Regions from separate parts of the Homo sapiens genome. Here all the other regions are linked to region 1. Evidence: promoter capture Hi-C in human tissues and cell types (Jung and others, 2019). All regions are on one chromosome and are shown on one strand. Each heading gives the region's core, a stretch centred on a gene start or on the middle of the fragment in contact. The rest is flanking DNA. Distances are from core to core; before and after follow the strand shown.

What was found. The method cuts DNA at HindIII sites, captures the fragments that hold promoters and counts their contacts. A contact is called where the count stands out against the background at its distance.
Region 2: a fragment that was not itself captured here is called in contact with the fragment with the promoter of NECAB1 in region 1 in 3 of the 25 tissues and cell types used here (H1 embryonic stem cells, dorsolateral prefrontal cortex and hippocampus).
Region 3: a fragment that was not itself captured here is called in contact with the fragment with the promoter of NECAB1 in region 1 in 1 of the 25 tissues and cell types used here (pancreas).
Region 4: a contact is called between a fragment that was not itself captured here and the fragment with the promoter of NECAB1 in region 1, in 1 of the 25 tissues and cell types used here (hippocampus).

What each region holds. Positions count from the first base shown.
Region 1 is chr8:90,790,417-90,793,498 of GRCh38, forward strand. NECAB1 (N-terminal EF-hand calcium binding protein 1) reads left to right here and starts at 1,359. Exons shown (of 13, transcript NM_022351.5): 1 at 1,359-1,569. The coding sequence starts at 1,471. It overlaps LOC105375633 (a long non-coding RNA gene), which reads right to left and starts at 1,752. Exons shown (of 4, transcript XR_928389.4): 1 at 1,022-1,752. The HindIII fragment of the contact is 16,269 bases long and covers 1-3,082 here.
Region 2 is chr8:90,832,317-90,835,178 of GRCh38, forward strand. The region is part of intron 3 of NECAB1 (N-terminal EF-hand calcium binding protein 1); the gene reads left to right. All of the region lies in intron 1 of LOC105375635 (a long non-coding RNA gene), which reads right to left. Among named protein-coding and RNA genes, the nearest start is that of NECAB1, 42 kb to the left of the region's middle. The HindIII fragment of the contact is 3,848 bases long and covers 1-2,862 here.
Region 3 is chr8:90,743,221-90,746,256 of GRCh38, forward strand. All of the region lies in intron 1 of LOC105375633 (a long non-coding RNA gene), which reads right to left. Among named protein-coding and RNA genes, the nearest start is that of NECAB1, 47 kb to the right of the region's middle. The HindIII fragment of the contact is 7,416 bases long and covers 1-3,036 here.
Region 4 is chr8:90,850,620-90,853,319 of GRCh38, forward strand. All of the region lies in intron 3 of NECAB1 (N-terminal EF-hand calcium binding protein 1), which reads left to right. All of the region lies in intron 1 of LOC105375635 (a long non-coding RNA gene), which reads right to left. All of the region lies in intron 2 of LOC105375634 (a long non-coding RNA gene), which reads right to left. Among named protein-coding and RNA genes, the nearest start is that of NECAB1, 60 kb to the left of the region's middle. RefSeq lists a silencer at 2,408-2,477. The HindIII fragment of the contact is 9,806 bases long and covers 1-2,700 here.

The DNA of each region.
Region 1 (3,082 bases), core at 109-2,608:
GGTAGGATCTGGGATTCTGTATGTTTATAGGAATCCCCAGTGGACTACTTCCAGCTTCCACGTGCTTTCCTGGTGCCATGCTTTGCTTACGCTGTTCCTTCTGCCTGGAAGTGTTTTCCTTCTATTTCTATCAAGCATGGAGTATCCACTGATTTTTAAGGTCCATTTCATATACCGCTTCTTTCATCAAGCTTTTATTGGTCCCCCCAGCCAGAGTGTAACCTGTCTCTCCTGAGAAACCCCTAGCATGTTTTACATGCCTTTAAGACACTCACATGTTGATCAGCATTTTGGTTGTGTGTGGGCCTGTCTTATAGGAAGAATATGTTTACTTTTCTCCAAAGGCCACAAAATGGAGATCTGGATCCTCCTCACCCGTTCTCACTGGTAGAGGCAGAGTCTTGTTTAGACAAGGTTCCCTCTTTTTTGCCTTATCTCGCTCCCAGATAGCTCAAGTTTGTAACCAACACATACACATTTTAGATGCCCAATAAACTGGATCTCTCTCCTGATGAAAGGTGTGGTCAGTTTCCTATTTTTACAGCCTTCGCAGAAGCCGTCAAATATTGAATAATTACCCTGGTTTAAATGCTTAAACACAGATAAGGACTTCGTCTTGTGACTTTGGGAAACTTCATATTTGAACATTACCTAACAATCCTTGCCCCATAGCAAACGTTTCGAAGCCTACTCTAGGCAGAGTTCATAGCACCGCCTTTGTCAGCAGCACTGCCATAGGTAAGCCTCAGAACCCTCTGGGGTGAGACCGGTGTAACCATTTTACTGATGAGGAAAAGTGAGGCTTACAGGTTAAGTCCTTCGAGCGCAAGATAACACCGAATGGCTTAATCCCTACACCAAACCAGCTGCTCCTCGATTGCTGGTATTCGTGAACCCTGCCCCCGCCTTTGGGGAAGGTCGGGCAGACAGGCCACTGGGACCAAAAGCAGAGTAGGTAGAACCTCTCTGAGTTCCTCCCTATTTATGGCATCCACTCAGGTGAGGCTGGGGGCGTCCTTACCTTGCGCTTTGGCTGCTCAGGACAAACGCCCTGCCATTCGTCCCTTCTCTCTGTCCGGACGCCCTCCTCCATCCCTGCACTTGGGGCCGTCGTGGGGCTGGTAGGGGTCCCCAGGCTATCTCCAGCCGTGGCCGATGGCCGTGCCGGGGGCAGAGCCCGCTCCCCTCCGCGCGTTGCTACGTGCGGGGATGACATGGATCCAGACGCCGTCAACTACGGGAAGGAGGAGGCGAGAGTTGGAGCGCGTGGGAGCGCAGAGGCCGGAGGAGGGAGGGGGGGACACCGAGCGCGGAGAGCGCGGAGAGCGCGGAGGGAGGCGCGCGCGGGAGCGAACACCCTCCCGGATCCAGAGCCCGGCGGCGGCGAAGCAGCAGCTGCGGCCGCGCCCTTGCCAGAGCCGGTGCGTCCGCCTAGCCCCGCTCCGCCTGAGGCCGTCAGGGCTCCCGAGGATGGAAGATTCCCAGGAGACATCGCCGTCCTCCAACAACTCCTCGGAGGAGCTCAGCTCTGCTCTGCACCTGTCCAAGGGCATGTCGATCTTCCTCGACGTAAGTACAGATGGTGGGAGCTGGGCGGTTGCTTCCCAGCACCTTTCTTTTCCCCGAAAGGAAGGGGTTCGGCTCAGGTGCTGACCAGCCAATGCTTTGTCCCCAGAACACAGGCGAGAACTACCGATGCAAATGCAGGAGGAACGACTGTCCCTTAACTTGCAGCTAGGGCTGTCCCAGACCTGCAGCTTGTGGCTTAACACCCTTAAGAAAACTGCAAAAGTTAGATTTTCCAACAGGCTGGGTTTCGTAGAGACACTATTGCAAATACAACAGACAACATTTGAGTGCATAGGACATTTTAAAGAGGCACAAGGTGTGGGGGGTGAGGTGGGGACAGTGTCCCAACTCATCTCTCTAACGCGCCCTATTCGCAGCCTTCACACTCGTGGATGCTCTCAAGCAACCCAGCCAGGGAAGCAGCAGCGATTGAGATGCCCTCGTTATCCTCCCCCAGACCCCCTCGGAAAACAATTACTTTGAGCATATTTGTTTTTCTTTTTACAGCGGTGGGAAATATCATTTTCATAATGATTCTTTTTGTCACTGCCACCTCTTCTATTTTCCCTTTTTCTTCCCTGATATTCTCCTTCTCTCCAAGTTCTAATTACTACTGTCACCTCCATGAATTCTAGCTTTTGACTATTTTCCCTTTGGTCCAATTTCTCACTTCGGTATCGACTGCCTGCCTTCATTACTCTGATCTGATTACATCCTTTCTTTTCCTTCTGTGCTGTTTCTTTTTCCCGTATGGTGTGGTTTCTATCTTTACAGCACTTTTATTTCTTATTTATTTCTCAATTTTGTTTTCCTCTCCTGCCTGCTGTTTCTGTTTTCTCTATTTTTCCGTCTGTTGCCTATCTCTTCTCTCTGCTTTGGGGTTTCTCTCAGCTGCTTGCCGGGCTCCAGGCTCTCCCAGCCCCTCAGTTGTCACATTCATGCTGTTGCCGGAGGTCGTGTCTATCTCAGTGGGGACAATTCTGTCTGCTTCTTGTTTAGGCATGATAGAAAATGTCAAAGGACATGGAGGAGTGCTACGTGCTCTGTCCTTTACCCTTCTCTGAGTTATCTTTTCTTATTAAAGTCAAAATGAGTGGGAGATGGGCCAGAAGCCAGATACATTTGTTTGTGGAGAGATGAAAATATGAGGAAATCAATTAGTATCATAATGGTGAGGCAGAGATAAAGAGGATAGGAGGATGTGAGGCGCTCTCCCAAGTTTATTTTGAATGGATTGGCTAGAATTCTTTTTAATTCTAGGGAAAGAAACTCCTATCAATAATTCAAACTGTTGTAAGGCAAATGATAGAAGTGAGGTTCAACTGTGTGTACTGGCAGCCTTCACCCTTTATCACCTGGTGGCTCCAATTGGTGATCCAGGCATTCTGGGCTGGTCATCTCCTTCCCACCAAATCTCAGGTGTGGTCATTCCTATTCAGCCACCCAATCAGGTGGTTAAGTACCTTATCCTTCATGAGCATTTATCTCTGCCTGGCTTGGGTCAGTCAGATGG
Region 2 (2,862 bases), core at 165-2,664, 42 kb after region 1:
TTGGGGCACTGCATTCTTCCCTGGAGGAAGAGTGCAGAATCAACAAGCCAAATTCTGCCTCATAATTAAAAGATTAGCAAAGTTTGGAGAATTTATAAAGGAGAGAATGTTAAAGGGATTTTTTCAAATGACATGGAAATGGTTTATTCTTAGTTATAATTTTTTGGAAAAAGAAAAACTGGTTCTAATTTTCTCCGACAAAAATGGTAGTCAAGTCAAATTTTGTGTCAAGGCAGTTTCTATATAATTTCTAAAAATATTTAATTTCTAAAGGAAATGCTTAATTTCTAATTGAATAGGAAAATGCATTTATGAAGTGATTATGTACCAGGCAATTAACTTGTATCATCTTATTTAATCTTTAAAAAAACCAAACAAACAAAATAAGAATGTATTGTCATTCATAGCCTACAGTTAAGCAATCTGATACAAAAAGTTAAATAACTTGCCCAAAGTTACATCAATATTATGATTAAGGGTCTGGGGTTTTCTCAGGTCTGCCTGAAAACCAAACCCAAGCTCTTTCCATTGCCATATCATCTCAATAAAATTTCATGTTTTTTGCTTTATATTTCATGTATCAGAAATCAAAATATTCCAAGGCAATTTTTAAAAATCGCTTTCAGTAATTTATCCTTGATAAAAAGATGGTTAATTCTCTCTAACAGTAGAATATATTTGATGTATACTATAGAGGTAATTGCTTTAATTGCTGCCTTTTTCTCTTCTCTTTTTATATCTATTATGTAGGGTTTTTACAGTGTGGGAGTTGCTACAATGTAGAAATGTTATTCTTCTTTTCTGTGGACATTGTTTCCACTCTTTGCACATTTTCCCTCCTTCTATCCTACCTTTATACTTAGAAATCATCATCTACTTTTAGACTTAGTTCCTGCCATCCTCCATCCCATCACTTTGCATTTGCCATATTTTCTCTATTGCTCTTCAGAGTACTCACAGAGTTTTACTGTTTCCTTTAATCGTTTGTATTAAGGGCCTTTTCAAACTTTTTCATATCTTTTTTATATTTTCTTATCTAGAGAATTATTTTTCTGGTTTTCATCTATTCCTCCCAAAAAAAAGCTTAAATTCTTTTTTTTTAATTTTACTTTAAGTTCTGGGATACATGTGCAGAATGTGCAGGTTTGTTACGTAGGTATACATGTGCCACGGTGGTTTGCTACATCTAGCATACATGTGTTTAAATTCTTTTTTAAACTTAATTGAACTCTTTCTTTCCGCCAGCCATGAAAGAGTTGCCATTAGTGAAGTAAAATCAATTACTGCTCAAAATAAAAATTGTCTACTGAGGAAGCTAGATGAATGATTTATTCACATAAATGCAGTTTTTTTCTTAAGTCATCAATATCCACCAGATGGATGAAATCAATGCAGTAAAATTGTAACCCCAATCTCTCTAAAATACATGGTGCTCACTTCGTGGACAGTATTTTTCCTCCATTTCCAATGCCCCAACCAATTCTGTACATTTTTCTCAAGAATGGTCAGTTTAAGAAAACAGTTACAGTTGTTCTCCATGAATTCTTAAGATTTCAGAATTCTCAGCCAGGCGTGGTGGCTCACGCCTGTAATCCCAGTACTTTGGAAGGCTGAGGCAGGTGGATCACTTGAGATCAAGAGTTCGAGACCAGCCTGGCCAACATGGTGAAACCCCACCTCTATTAAAAATACAAAAATTAGCTAGGCATGGTGGCGCATGCCTGTAATCCCAGCTACTTGGGAGGCTAAGGTATGAGAATTGATTGAACCCAGCAGGTGGCGGTTGCAGTGAGCTGAGACTGTGCACCACTGTACTCCAGCCTAAGAGACAGAGTGAAACTGTGTCTCAAAAAAAAAAAAAAAAAAAAAAAAGATTTCAGAATTTTAGAAATAAATGTAGATTACAAATAACCAAAAAGTCACTGCTTACTTTTGAAGTGCAGGTTTTTTCAAGAGCAATTTTTTAAGGAAAATATTTCCCCCACTGCTATGGTCTGAATGTATGTGTTTCTTGGAAATTTATATGTTGAAACTTAATATCCACAGTGATAGTATTAAAAGAGAGGGCCTTTGGCAAATGACTAGGTCATAAGGATTCCACCCTCATGAATGGGATGAGTGCCCTTTTATAAAAGAGCCCTGAAGGAGCTTGTGTGTCCCTTCCACTTATGTAAGGATACATAGAAAGTGCCATCGATGAGTAACAAGCCCTCATTAAACACCAAATCTGTTGGTGTCTTAATCTTCGACTTAGCCTCCAGAACTGTGAGCAATAAATTTCTGTTGCTTATAAATTACCCAGTCTGAAGTATTTGTTAGAGAAGCCCAAAAGGACTAAGACACTCACAAACCAAATAATATAAACAGTACATAATTATTGTAAAAAGAGTTGAAAATATAGAAAATTAGAAGAAAGAGCATAAAATATCTGAAACCTCACAATCTTGAGATAATCACCAATAGCATTTGGTTACCATAGCTTTTATGTATGCATTCTATTTTAATCATGGAAAACTCTTGCTTTTAGATTTCTTTTCCTTTTCTACCCTCTATCCTTATACTATCCCCCATAACCAATCTTTATCACCTAAATTGGTCTTGTGTATTTTTTCCATGTTTATGTAATCATATACACATCTATATGTCTCATGAAAGCTTTCCCTGACTTTCTTTTTTTTTTTTTTAAAAAAGAGCCCGCATCGACTTTCTTTATTAGTTTAAAATTTCTATTCTGCATTCTCATTGTAACATGGACTGCTCTTTACAGCCCCTATATTATTTACAATTTTATATTTATTAGGGTGTTTATTTGACTGGGATTTACTGCTAGCCTAAATTCCACGAAGGCAGAGGCCATAACTA
Region 3 (3,036 bases), core at 88-2,587, 47 kb before region 1:
TTCTTTGTCCCTTTCTACTGTTGTTGGTTTAAAATCTATTTTCGGCCAGGCAAGGTGGCTTGTGCCTGTAATCCCCAGCACATTGGGAGGCTGAGGTGAGTGAATCACTTGAGTCCAGGAGTTCAAGACCAGTCTGGGCAGCACAGTTAGATGCTGTCTCTATAAAAATTAGCCAGGCCTGGTGGCATCTGCCTGTAGTCCCAGCTACTCAGGAGGCTGAGGTGGAAGGATCTCTTGAGCTTGGGAGGTTGAGGCCACAGTGAGCCATGATTGTGCCACTGCACTCCAGCCCTGAGAGACACAGCAAGACTCTATCAAAAAACATCTATTTAATCTGATATAAAGATAGTGACACTTGTTTTTTGTTTGTTTGTTTTTTTACTTAAAGTTCCAGGCAGTATACATGTGCAGAATGTGCAGATTTGTTACACAGGTAAACATTTGCCACTGTGATTTGCTGTTCCTATCAACCCATCACCTAGTTATCAACCCCTGCATGCATCAGCCATCTGTACTCATGCTCTCCCTCCCCTTGCCATCCCTGATGGGCCCCAGTGTGTGTTGTTCCCTGTGTCCATGTGTTCTCCTTGTTCAGCTCCCACTAATAAGTGAGAATATGCAGAGTTTGGTTTTCTCTTCCTGTGTTAGTTTGCTGAGGATAATGGCTTCCAGCTTCATCCATGTCCCTGCAAAGGACATGATCTCATTATTTTTTATGGCTGCATAGTATTCCATGGTGTATATGTATCACACTTTCTTTATCCAGTCTATCATTGATGGGCCTTTGAGTTGGTTCCATGTCTTTGCTATTGTGAATAGCACTGCAATAAACATATGTGTGCATGCATCTTTATAATAGAATGACTTATATTCCTTTGGGTATATACCCAGTAGTGGGGTTGCTGGGTCAAATGGTATTTGTGGTGCTAGATCCTTGAGGAACCCCACACCGTCTTCCACAACAGTTGAACTAATTTACATTCCCACCAAAGCATTCCTATTTCTCCACAGCCTTGCCAGCATCTGTTGTTTCTTCACTTTTTGATAATCATCATTCTGACTGGCATGAGATGGTATCTCATTGCGGTTTTGACATGCATTTATCTAATGATCATGATGTTGAGTTTTATTTCAGGCTTTTTGGCTGCATAAGTGTCTTCTTTTGAAAAGTGTCTGTTCATGTCCTTTGCCCACTTTTTGATGGGGTTGTTTGTTTTTTTCTTGTAAATTCGTGTACGTTCATTGTAAATTCTGAATATTAGCCCTTTGTCAGAAGGGTAGATTGCAAAAGTTTTCTTCCATTCTGTAGACTGCCTGTTCACTGATGAGAGTTTCTTTTGATGTGCAAGAACTCTTCAGTTTAATTAGATTCCATTTGTTAATTTTTGTTTTTTGTTACAATTGCTTTTGGCAATTTCATCGTAGAATCTTTGTCCATTCCTGTGTCTTGAACAGTATTGCCTAGATTTTATTCTAGGGTTTTTATGGTTTGGGGTTTTACATTTCAGTGTTTAATCCATATTGAGTTAATTTTTGTATAAGTCATAAGGAAGAGGTCCAGTTTCCATTTTCTGCATATGACTAGCCAGTTTTCCCAGCTCCATTTATTAATAGGGAATCCTTTCCCCATTGCTTGTTTTTGACAGGTTTGTCAAAGATAAGATGGTCATTGATGTGCAGTCTTATTTCTAAGGTCTCTATTCTGTTCCATTGGTCTGTATGTCTGTTTTGGTACCAAACATGCTGTTTTGGTTACTGTAGCCTTGTAATATAGTTTGAAGTCAAGTACCCGGATACCTCCAGCCTCTTTCTTTTTGCTTAGGATTGTCTTGGCTATACAGCCTCTTTTTTGGTACTATAAGAATTTTAAAGTAGTTTTTTCTAATTCTGTGAAGAATGTCAGTGGTAGTTTGATGGGAATAACATTGAATCTATAAATTACTTTGGGCAGTATGACCATTTTCATGATATTGATTCTTCCTATCCATGAGGATGGAATGTTTTTCCATTTTTTGTGCCCTCTTTTATTTCCTTGAGCCGTGGTTTGTAGTTATCCTTGAAGAGGTCCTTCACATCCCTTGTTAGCTATATTCCTAGGTATTTTATTCTCTTTGTAGCATTTGTGAATGGGAATTCTTTCATGATTTAGCTCTCTGCTTGTCTATTATTGGTGTATAGGAATGCTTGTGTCTTTTGCACATTGATTTTGTATCCTGAGACTTTGCTGAAGTTGCTTATCAGCTTAAGGAGCCTTTGGGCTGAGATGATGGGGTTTTCTACATATAGGATCATGTTGTCTGCCAAAAGAGACAATTTGACTTCCTCTCCTCCTATTTGAATACACTTTATTTCTTTCTCTTGCCTTATTGCCCTGGCCAGAACTTTCAATACTACGCTGAATAGGCATGGTGAGAGAGGGCATCCTTGTCTTGTTCTGCATGGAATGCTTCCAGCTTTTGCCCATTTAGTATGATGTTGGCTGTGGGTTTGTCATAAATAGCTCTTATTATTTTGAGATGTGTTCCATCAATAACTAGTTTATTGAGAGTTTTTAACATAAAGGGATGTTAAATTTTATCAAAGGTCTTTTCTGCATTTATTGGGATAATCTTGTGGTTTTTGTCACTGGTTCTGGTTATGTGATGGATTACGTTTATTGATTTGCATACGTTGATCCAGCCTTGCATCCCAGGGCTGAAGCCAACTTGACTGTGGTGGGTAAGCTTTTTGATGTGCTGCTGGATTCAATTTCCCAGTATTTTATTGAGGATTTTTGCACTGATGTTCATCAGGGATATTGACCTGAAGTTTTCTTTTTTTGTTGTGTCTCTGCCAGGTTTTGTTATCAGAATGATGCTGGCCTCAGAGTCAGGGAGAAGTCCCTCCTTTTCAATTGTTTAGAATAGTTTCAGAAGGAATGGTACCAGCTCTTCTTTGTACCTCTGGTAGAATTCTGCTGTGAATCCATCTGGGCTTTTTTTGGTTGATAGGCTATTTATTACTGCCTCAATTTCAGAACTTGTTATAGATCTACTC
Region 4 (2,700 bases), core at 128-2,627, 60 kb after region 1:
GACAGCTGAGAGGAAAGAGTACTGGATTAGTCACTAGGAAAACTAGGGGTTTGGTGCTTTGTCTATATATCTTCTTACTGGGGTTCAAGCCTCTTTGTTTCCATTGAAATTATTACATTTCATATGATATTGTGATATAATTAAAATATATAGTTGATCTTTGTCCCTGGTTTCTGGCATAGAGCTTCTAAATGCCTTGGAATTTCCTGAGTGTTAGGGATGAGAGGAACATCTTTTGTTATTTATGGTAAGCCCCTTTCAACCATACCTGAGTTTATGCTAATAAGGTGAGTCTTGAAGGATGGGGGCTGGTTTGCCAGAGGAACCAACCAAGTGATTAGAGGATCGGAACTTTCAGCCCAAACTCTCAACCTCCAGGGAGGATAGAGGGGCTAGAGATTGACTCAGTCACCAAGGGTCAATGATTTACTCAACTGCCTATATAATGAGGCCTCCATGAAAACACTAAATGATGGGGTTAAGACAGCATCCAGGTTTGTGAACACATGCAGGTTCTGGGAAAGTGGTATACCCGAAGAGGGCATGGAAGCTCCATGCACCACTGCCCTCAATACCTTGTCTTGGGCATCTATTCCATTTGGCTGTTCCTGGGTTGTATCCTTTATAATAAACCAGTAATAGTAAGTAAAGTGTTTTCCTGAGTTCTGTGAATCATTCTAGCAAATTATCAAACCTGAGGAGGGAGTGCGGGATCCTCCGGACAGGACAGAAGTTGTGGGAAACCTGAGGACACTCTACCAGCAATTGGCATCTGCAGTGGGCTAGGGGCAGACTTGTGGACGAAGCCTATAACCTGTGGAGTTTGCCTAAACTCCCAGTATTAAGGATCATAATTGAATTGTAGGACACTCAATTGATATCCAGACTGTTGGAGAATTGCTTGATGTAAGGAAAAACCCCATACATTTGGTGTCATAAGTATTTTGTGGGTATAGAAAAAAAAGGGGGCATCTTTTATTTCCATTTTTAAATAGATTTTAGTTTTTAGAGCAGGTTTAGGTTCACAGCAAAATGGAGTGAAAGATACAGAGATTTCCCATATACCCCCTGCATCCACATATGCACATCCTGCCCCATTATTAACATCCCCATCAGAGAGTACTTTTGTCACAACTGATGAACTTACATTGACACATCATTATCTCCCCAAATCCAAAGTTTACATTAGAGCTTACTCTTCATGTTGTACACTCTATGGGTTTAGACAAATTTATAATAACATGTACCCATAATTAGAGTATCATAAAGAGTAATTTCACTGCCCTAAGTTCGTCTGTGGTCCACCTGTGCATCCCTCCCCACCCCCAACCCCATTTTGTTTTTAAGTGTTTCTTTACTTCCCCAGTACACAGGCTCCAATGTCACCTTCACTAAAATGAGTTAAAATGAATCAATATAATTTTGTTGTTGTTATTTTTAATTTTATTTAGAAAGTGGGTATTGTTTTTGAAGAGATGCATCAGTAGAAGCCTCTCCTCGATATGCTGCATGCTCACTCATTGGGATAAATACCTGATTTCACATTATATGAATGTCCATTAAGAAGGGTGCAAGCTAACATCTGCAGAATTCCTACTTTGTACAAAGTACTGTTCTAAACATTCTATACTGTCACCTCCTTTAAAATTACCACCACTCATCGAGGCCCTGAAAAGTTCAGTAACTTGCCCATTATCACATCACTTGTAAAGGATGGATCAGGGATCACACCAGGACATCATAGCTTCAAGGTTTGTATTTCTCCATCATAATATTTTGTACATACACACTGGTTGTACCAGTGATAGGGACAGGAGGCAGAGTAATTCTAGGCAGAAGAGGCAGGTCCCTGACAAAACCCCACCCTCAAGCCAAAGGCCTGAAACTGTGGCCCAAAATGAGAACCTACATCCTTGTTTTCCCATTCAAATGTTGCCTTTTCCTAAACCACCCATGGCCCACCCTGCCCTCCATCCTCTGCCTGTAAAGACCCCAGACTCAGCCAGCAGAGAGGAGAAGCGGTGGGATGTTGGGCTGGATATCAGAGAGAAGTGGCTTGACTTCAGAGGGACAGCTTGACAGTGTAACTTTGGAGAAGAATCTGGCCAAAGACAGTCAGACTTTGGGGAAAGATTATGTGTCTGCCCTGTCTCCTTTTCAACTCCCCTTCCCACTGAGAGCCACTTTCATCAGCAATAAAATCCCGTTCATTTACCATCCTTCAATTCATTCGTGCAACCTCATTTTTCCTGAACACTGGACAAGAGCTTGAGAGCCACAAGTGTGGATGCAAAAGGCTATCACACTGGCCCTTTGCCCTCGCTGATGGAGGGCAGCCACCTCATGCGAAAAGGCAGAGGACCCACTGAGCTGTTAACACTTAAGCTGTCCTTGGATGCCAGAGCTAAAAGAGCACTGTAACACACATTCTGGGGCTTCAGGGGTCAAAGGCAGCCCCCTTGAGGCTGCCATGGGGCCTGCATGGAGTTTGCTTCTGCTGGTGCGCAAAGCACTTGCCCTGGCTCCTGTAACCGCTCACCTGCATGCTGCCTCCTGTGAGGGGTGGAGTGCAGCGGGTCTGAGTGAGTGGAGGTAACTCCTGCCAGTGCAGAAGCAGCCAGCTGGTTCCAGCACTCGTGGACTCCAGTTCCTGCCTCTTTCTCTCACATGCTCTCTCCCACAAGGAGTTGAAAGCTGCGG